Regions from separate parts of the Homo sapiens genome. Here all the other regions are linked to region 2. The links are contacts of gene promoters, found by promoter capture Hi-C in blood cells and fetal thymus (Javierre and others, 2016). All regions are on one chromosome and are shown on one strand. Each heading gives the region's core, a stretch centred on a gene start or on the middle of the fragment in contact. The rest is flanking DNA. Distances are from core to core; before and after follow the strand shown.

The links. Contacts are between HindIII fragments. The CHiCAGO score rates a contact against its expected background, and 5 or more counts as called.
Region 1: a contact is called between a fragment that was not itself captured here and the fragment with the promoter of TMC1 in region 2, in 1 of 17 cell types (non-activated CD4 T cells). The highest score is 5.1, in non-activated CD4 T cells.
Region 3: a fragment that was not itself captured here is called in contact with the fragment with the promoter of TMC1 in region 2 in 1 of 17 cell types (activated CD4 T cells); the score reaches 5.6 in activated CD4 T cells.

Annotation. Positions count from the first base shown.
Region 1 is chr9:73,165,029-73,167,728 of GRCh38, forward strand. ANXA1 (annexin A1) reads left to right here. Exons shown (of 13, transcript NM_000700.3): 9 at 88-181; 10 at 1,069-1,164; 11 at 2,469-2,527. Among named protein-coding and RNA genes, the nearest start is that of ANXA1, 15 kb to the left of the region's middle. The HindIII fragment of the contact is 701 bases long and covers 1,013-1,713 here.
Region 2 is chr9:72,520,275-72,522,974 of GRCh38, forward strand. It overlaps TMC1 (transmembrane channel like 1), which reads left to right and starts at 1,334. Exons shown (of 24, transcript NM_138691.3): 1 at 1,334-1,639. The HindIII fragment of the contact is 6,235 bases long and covers 1-2,700 here.
Region 3 is chr9:71,795,557-71,798,256 of GRCh38, forward strand. No RefSeq gene overlaps it. Among named protein-coding and RNA genes, the nearest start is that of CEMIP2, 28 kb to the left of the region's middle. The HindIII fragment of the contact is 1,147 bases long and covers 715-1,861 here.

The DNA of each region.
Region 1 (2,700 bases), core at 113-2,612, 640 kb after region 2:
CTATATAATCTTTGACAAGGTCTAACATTATTGTGCAGATATCATTTCAGCAGATAGTGAAGTGTTTACTTTTGTGTTTCTTGACAGGCCTTGTATGAAGCAGGAGAAAGGAGAAAGGGGACAGACGTAAACGTGTTCAATACCATCCTTACCACCAGAAGCTATCCACAACTTCGCAGAGGTAACAATAAATTTCTTTTTCTGGAATCTGTTTATGGAAGATGCAATTTTCTTTTTTGATGACAAATAAGAGAAAGTAAAAACAGAACCCTTTTTCAATATCACTCCTGTATCAAACAGATACAGTGTTCCTGACCCATTGTTATTTGTCAATTTGTCCAATTTTGTACAGCCGCTACTTTATCATATTTAATACATTTTGTGACTTGGGCATGTGGAACATAATTTTGTTATTTTCACTGCTTTTACTCCCCTAAAAGATTTGGAATATGTGTGGGAAAAGACATGCATAACAGAACAAATGAAATTAGAATGAAGAAAAACAAAAAAAAAAAAACAAAAAACCCTCAGAGCTAAATGAAGAAAGAAATATGTAGGTGCTTTGGAAAAACAACAACAAGACAAAACTCAGAAAAAGTCCTGGCCTTTGAGTGCAAGATTTAGCTCTGGGCCTCTTGGAAGTGAAGGCGATGGAAAAGTTATGACAATTACCAAAGTTCACCATCTTATAATAGTATACTGATTTCTACTGTTAAATGTAAGAGAAATTTAGTGCACAGGTCTTTATATAAGGGAAGATCCATTTGCTGTGGCTCTTAGAACTGCTGTAGGAAGTGCTATAGTTGTCAATCACATGCCGTTTCTAATAACTGTCAACATTTGCAAACATTTCGCCAAAATATATAGGAATACCAAAATGGCCAGGTAAGTTACATTCCTAGGAGAGGATGAAGTATTCACGTTATGATTAATTGGGTATATTGCTTTAAAAGGTGTAGCCAAAGTTGTTATTCTAAAAAATTCTTTGAGTCAGTTGCCTTGATTTTGCTAAAGCTTTCTAAAGAAAAGGATGTTTTGCATGTATCTTAGTTTGAATTTAATATTCAGTGTTTCAGAAATACACCAAGTACAGTAAGCATGACATGAACAAAGTTCTGGACCTGGAGTTGAAAGGTGACATTGAGAAATGCCTCACAGCTATCGGTATGTAGTCCAGCAGTTGAAAGAGTTTTCTAACTAGAAATTGTATTTTCAAAGCTATCCTATACTTAACAAGAACAACAGCAACAAAACCAATAAAAGAAAACAAAAAACAATCAGAAGTAGTGCATCTGTTTCAATTGAAGCAACGTAAAAGATTGGCAAAGTACTATAACCTTAATAACAATAGATATTATTCCCCTTTTCAAAAATAGAGAGAGATAGACTATACTTATTGAGCACCTACTTATATCAAACAATGTACCAGGCTGGGCACACCACAGAGGCAATTCAGAATGGTCACTGAGAGCATGGGATCTGGAATAAATGTAACATCTGGATAAATGTAACTTCAAGTCCTGGTCTACTGCTTGTTAATTGTACAATCTTGGGCAGGTCCAGGAGAGTCTGATTCAGTGGGTCCGAGTTGGCCTCTAAAAATCGGTACTTTTTAAAGATCTCCCAGGTTATTCAGACAACCATCAGGGTTGGGGAACCTATGTTCTCAAGCAGTGTTTCTCATTCATGACTATGCACTTGAATCCCCTGGAAAGCTTGTTAAAATGCAGATTCTGATTCCCCAGGTCTGGGGTGGAGCTTAGATTCTGCTTTTCTAACAAGCTCCCCATTGATGCCAATGCTGTTGGTCCATAGATCTCGACAAGATGAAGAACACTATGAACTGGAATGTGCTAGTATTATTTGGGTTCTGTTTTATATTTAAGCCCATCCTATCCCAGAGTTTTTTCTTCATTTATTCATTTATTTTTACTTATTTGTTTGTGCAACTCTTACTTTAGACACAGAGGTACATGTGCACGTTTGTTCCATGGGTGTTCTGCACTCAGGCAGTGAGCATAGTACCCAATAAGTAGTTTTTTGACCAATGCCCCTTCTCTCCCTGCCCTCTCTAGTAGTCTGCAGTGTCTGTTGTTCATAGGGTGTTCTTTTTAAATGTTCTTATAGTAACATAAATAAAGTATTTACATAGGCTTGAACACCTAGTGGCTTCTCCACTCCCAAGGAGAATATATGTTGGATAGCGCAAACTACTGAAGTTGCTCTTGAGATGTATTTAAGGTAATAAAAAAATTGATCGTCAGGGAAAAGAATATTCAAAACCACCATCTAGAGAGTCACAAATACCTTCTCAGAAGTTAACTGCCCTATATTGGGAGATGAGAGGTGAAGAATGATGATGAGGGATAGAACACTGTTGGCAAAATTCTATATTTCCTGTTTCTTTCATATGGATATTTCATTTTTTTCATGGTAAATACATCAACTAAAATTTTCTTCTCTAACAGTGAAGTGCGCCACAAGCAAACCAGCTTTCTTTGCAGAGAAGCTTCATCAAGCCATGAAAGTATGTACCATTCTACTTATATGTCCTGCTTAGAGGAAGAATTATTTGTAGAAAGAACAGAAAACCTCATGTTGTTTGAAAATCTCACATTTAATATCTTCCCATTAATGAGAATCATTGTTCTATTTGATGAAAGAGGTAATACACTACCTTCTCAGAATAAACTTCTGTTA
Region 2 (2,700 bases), core at 84-2,583:
TTAACAAACAACAGGTATGAAGATGCTGTTCACAAAAAGTGCATGTAGTTCCATGTGTTTTATTTAGTCTGTTTGAAATGAAGTTTAGCATATCTATAGCACACAGCATGAAACATGTCAGTCATTTTGAATTTAACATTGTGCATAATGTATTCATAAGAATTATATTTATTTATTAGCATTTATCTTCAAATCAAAGGTTAAAAGTTTCAAGATGCACAAAAATGGTTAACTTTCTGTGAGAAGTCTGAGAAATCACTGAAGACATGAAAATGACAGGCTGGAGGAAGAAGTAAAGAACCTAGAAGGCCAAAATGGAATTCTAAGATAACATGAATATAGAACATAGAAAAGAGAAAGGATTGATTGAAAAAAGGAAAGGGGAAAAAAAAGGAATTATTAAATGGAAACATTAGATTCAAGTAAACCCAAAACAATCATCAAAGTAGATGTTAACAGCATTTTGAGTACATGTTGTGAGTATGAGAAGTGCAATTCTAAATGTTAGGCCCTTATGTTTTAACATATCAGCAAATACAATATTTTGTTTCTAATTTAACAAATTTTTAAGACTTATGTTAGTTGTGACATATTTCCAATAAATAATTATGTTTCCCAAGGACACTGGGTACAATAAAGTGGGTCTGACAATTAACTTACCTTTGAAACCTGAGCCCTTCATTAGTTACAGGAATAGACTGGAACATGATTTTTCCTCTCCTGCTTGGAGAACCCACAAGTTGTGTTTTCTTTATGAATATTGGAAATTCTTTCTTTTAGCCAAATGAAGGGTGTGCATTTCTTCGGCCAGGAGTTACCAGGCTGATAATCCTGATGCAGCGGTTCTCAAAGTCTCCTCAGAAGGCCCGCAGTAGCACCAGCAGCACCAAAGGACTTGTTGGAAACACCAGTTTTCTAGGCCGGGCACAGTGGCTCATGCCTGTAATCCCAGCACTTTCGGAGGCCGAACTCCTGAGGTCAGGAGTTTTGAGACCAGCCTGGCCAACATGGCAAAACCCCGCCTCTACTAAAAATACAAAAATTAGCCGGGTGTAGTGGCGGGCACCTGAAATCACAGTTACTTGGGAGGCTGAGGCAGGAGAATCACTTGAACCTGGGAGGCAGAAGTTGCAGTGAGACAAGATCACACCATTGCACTCCAGCCTGGGCGACAAGAGCAAAACCTCTGATTAGAAAAAAAAAAACAAACAGGCGCCGTGGCTCACGCCTATAACCCCAGCACTTCAGGAGGTTGAGGTGGGCGGATCACCTGAGGTCAGGAGTTCAAGATCAGCCTGGCCAATAGAGTGAAACCCCGCCTCTACAAAAACATGATGGCGCGCGACTGTTTCCCATCTACTCAGAGGCTGAGGCGGGAGAATCGCTTGAACCCGGAAGGCGGAGGTTGCAGTGAGCTGAAATCACGCCATTGCGCTCCAGCCTGGGTGACAGAGCAAGACTCCGTCACAAAAAAAAAAAGAAAAAAGAAACACCAGTTTTCTGATTTCACCGAAGACCTACTGCCTCAGAAACTATGAGGGCAGAACCCAGCAATCTGTGCTTTCTTTCACAAGCCCTCCAGGAGTTGCTGAAATTTAGGAATCATTGCCCCAAAAAGTGGCCCTCATAATGATGCCAGGTAAGGAAAGACAACATTATTACCTATGTGTGGTGTGTTAACATTCTTTATGAAACATGTGTGAAGACCTAAATCGAAGACTTTCTCCATGAGATATTCCCTAATCACATTAGTGAAATAAAACTATATTTCCTCTACTTTTCTACTGCTACAGAAATCTCCCCCAGTTAGGATAGTCCCAGTTTCCTATTTATCTTTGTTTTTCTTGCAGTGCACAGCATGTCACCCAGTAATTGATAAGTTTTTTTTTTTTTGAGACGGAGTCTTGCTCTGTCTCCCAGGCTGGAGTGCAGTGGCGCGATCTCGGCTCCCCAAGTAGCTGGGACTACAGGCGCCCGCCATCACGCCCGGCTAATTTTTTGTATTTTTAGTAGAGACGGGGTTTCGCCGTGTTAGCCAGGATGGTCTCGATTTCCTGACCTCGTGATCCGCCCGCCTCAGCCTCCCAAAGTGCTGGGATTACAGGCGTGAGCCACCGCACCTGGCCTAATTGATATGTTTAAATGTTAAAATTAAATGCAATGATTTCCTAAAATAAACAAATGTGGGACAATTTATTGCACTCTGTTCAAATTCCCATTTTGAAGTGGAATTCAAACAAACATGACAGTAAAGGGGGACAGTGAGCACAGGGACAAGAGAAAAGGAGAAAGGGAAGAAATACAGAGAACTAGATAGGAGGAAGTGTCAAAGACTGATGGGTGTAAGCCACCTTTACCTCTGGATATTGGTTTTCCTTTGAATTGTGGTATGTGGTCATATTGCTTATTAGTTATAACATACAGCTGTCAGAAGAGTTTTTCAATTAAAATTTCAAATGTAATATTAAAACTGTTTGGATTCCTTCCTACTGGGCACTGGACACTGTCTGTGGAGCTGCTGGAACAGCGCTGAATAGGGTCATATTTTAAAGGAACTCAGCCTAGTGCAGTTTCTCAACCTTAGCACTATTGGCCTTTGGGGCCTGATAATCCTTTTTTGTGAGGGGCTGTCCTGTGCACTGTAGGATGTTTAGCAGCATCCTTGGCTTCTACTCAGTAGATGACAGTATCAACCCCCTT
Region 3 (2,700 bases), core at 38-2,537, 720 kb before region 2:
CAGACTTTCTAGTTGATTAGCCAGGCATGAAGTTCTATCTTGACAAGAAGAAAGTACATCCTGTTGTCTTCTTGTCTCGATCTCAAATGTGCTCTTGCCAGATATTAATACATTGCCTTTCTTTAAACACAGGAAGTGGGTAAGGCAAATTTTCTCAAAGGCTCAGAACGGCACAATATTTCTCCCCTTTGCTTACATGCAGAAGATATCTGAGAATATATCTAGCCAATATGTGTAAAGTTTTCATTGACTCAAGCAAGCAGAAGAGTTCAGACAATAATAAGGCATCCTAATTGTTCTAGTGTAAAAAAAAGCTCTGCACTTATTTGCGGTTATTTTTTAAAAATCCACTTTGGAAAATGTGCAGAAAATTTCAGGCTTGGCTAATGCTCTTTTTCCATCTCATGTCCTTTAGCATATGACTCAAGTTTTCCATGTTATCATAAGGTAATTTTGCTATCTTTCATTTATTAGTGTTTATTATTAATTACTTATTATTATAATATAATGCCAATATAATCACACTTAATACTTAGAAAAATCTAGTAAAGGAGGCTGTGTCAGGGATCTACAGGACCACTCCCAGGTTAGTGATTTGCTAGAAATCTAAATATAATGACATTCATGGCTAAAATTTATTACAGTAAATAGATGCAAAGAAAAATTAGCAAAGGGAAAAGGCACATGGGCGAGGTCCAGAAGTAACCAAGCACAAGCTTCCAAGAGCCATCTCCCAGTACGGTCCCCTCCCAGTACAGTCCCCTCCCAGTAGAGTCCCAAAGGACATGCTTGATTCCTCCAGCAATGAGTTGTGACAACACATGTGAAATGTTGTCTACAAGGTGAGATAGGAGGTGGGACTCTGGAGGTGATGCTCAGAAACTGGACCAGATTGAGGACTAGCTAAAACAGGGAAGAGATAAAAATACCTCTCTGTAAGACATGCCCACAAGAGTGCCATGTCAGTTTACCATTGCCATGGCAACACCCAGAGATTTCTGCCCCTTTCCATGGCAATGACCCAATGACTCAGAAGTTACCACTCTTTTTCTAGAAATTTCTGCATAATCCACCCCTTGATTTGCATGTAATTTAAAGTGGGTATAACTATGACTGCAGAACTGCCTCTGAGCTGCCACTCTGGGCACACTGCCTGTGGGGTGGCCTTCTCCACAGAACCAGTACCTCTGCTGCTGCTGTACACTGCTGCTTCAATAAAAGTTGCTGTCTAGGCCAGGCGCAGTGGCTCATGCCTGTAATCCCAGCAATTTGAGAGGTTGACGTGGGCGGATCACTTGAGCCCAGGAGTTTGAGACCAGCCTGGGCAACATGGCAAAATACTGTCCCAACTAAAAATACAAAAATTAGCCAGCCATGGTGGCATGCACCTGTGGTCCCAGCTACTCAGGAGGCTGAGGTAGGAGGATCACTTGAGCCTGGGAGGTTGAGGCTGTAGTGAGCTGTGACCATGCCACTGCACCCAAGCCTTTGAGACTCTGTCTCAAAAAAAAAAAAAAAAAAAGGTGCTTTCTAACATGACCAGCTGGCTCTTGAATTCTTTCCTGGGCAAAGGCAAGGCAAGAACTCTCGCTGGCTAAGCCCCAGCTTTGGGGCTTACCTGCCCTGCATCAAAGGGAAGCCCATTAGGGCCTCAGTGCTGAGAATTTTTACTGGGGATGGTGGTTTATAATCTCAGTATTTTTCATTTCTAAAAGATTTATAAAGGAAAAGTAAGGATGTTCATCTATGTAGTTGTCTCTGTTAGTTTCTTTGTGTGATTGTTGGTTTTGACTTTGACCTGATGTGAAAAAATGTCCCAAGGACAGACACCAAGGAAAGCACGAGATGAGTAATCCATCAAAGCTTCTGTATGAGATGCAAGCCTTCCTCTTTCCATCTCTTCATAGGAGGAAATGGGAAGATTCTTCCCCTGAATCACAGCCCTCCAAGTGTCTACAGGATATACAGCTATTTTCACTTCAGTAGCTTCACATGGGAAAAAATCCCTGACATGGCTATCAGGTCAAAATGAATCAAGAGATAAGATATGTGTATCTGTGAGACTTTTAGACCTAAAACCAGGCTACCCATGACAACTATTTATTGGCTCTCTTAACTGTATTAAAGCACAAATACAAAAAGATAAACATGTTGTCTAAAAATAAATCAATAAATTGGTCTACTCTACCCACTTCAGCATTGCGAAGGAACTACTGTGCAACTCAGTCTACACTGTGCTGTTTCTTCTGGCACGTTTCTTGAATTTGATTTGCACAGCAGAAAAGAATCCTCTCATAGGGCATTATTTATGTATCAGCACAGCAAATACTTTGGTCAGCTACCCAATACTAATAAAACTAACGCCTGTTTATGGTTCATCTTAGTCTCACTTGTTTTCTCTTTTCAAATTGTGTTGTTGCTGTTATTGTTGCCATTGTTGTTGTTGAGACAGGGTCTTGCTTTGTCACCCAGGGTGGAATGCAGTGGTACAATCAACGGCTCACTGCAGCCTCAACCTCCCGGGCTCAAATGATCCTCCCACCTCAGCCTCCTGAGTAGCTGAGAGTACAGGTATGTGCCACCATGCCCAAAGAGTTTTATTTATTTTTGTAGAGATGAGGTCTCACTATGTTGCCCAAGCTGTCCAGCTGTCCTTAACTGGACTCAAGCAATCTTCCCTCCTTGGCCTCCCAGAGTGCC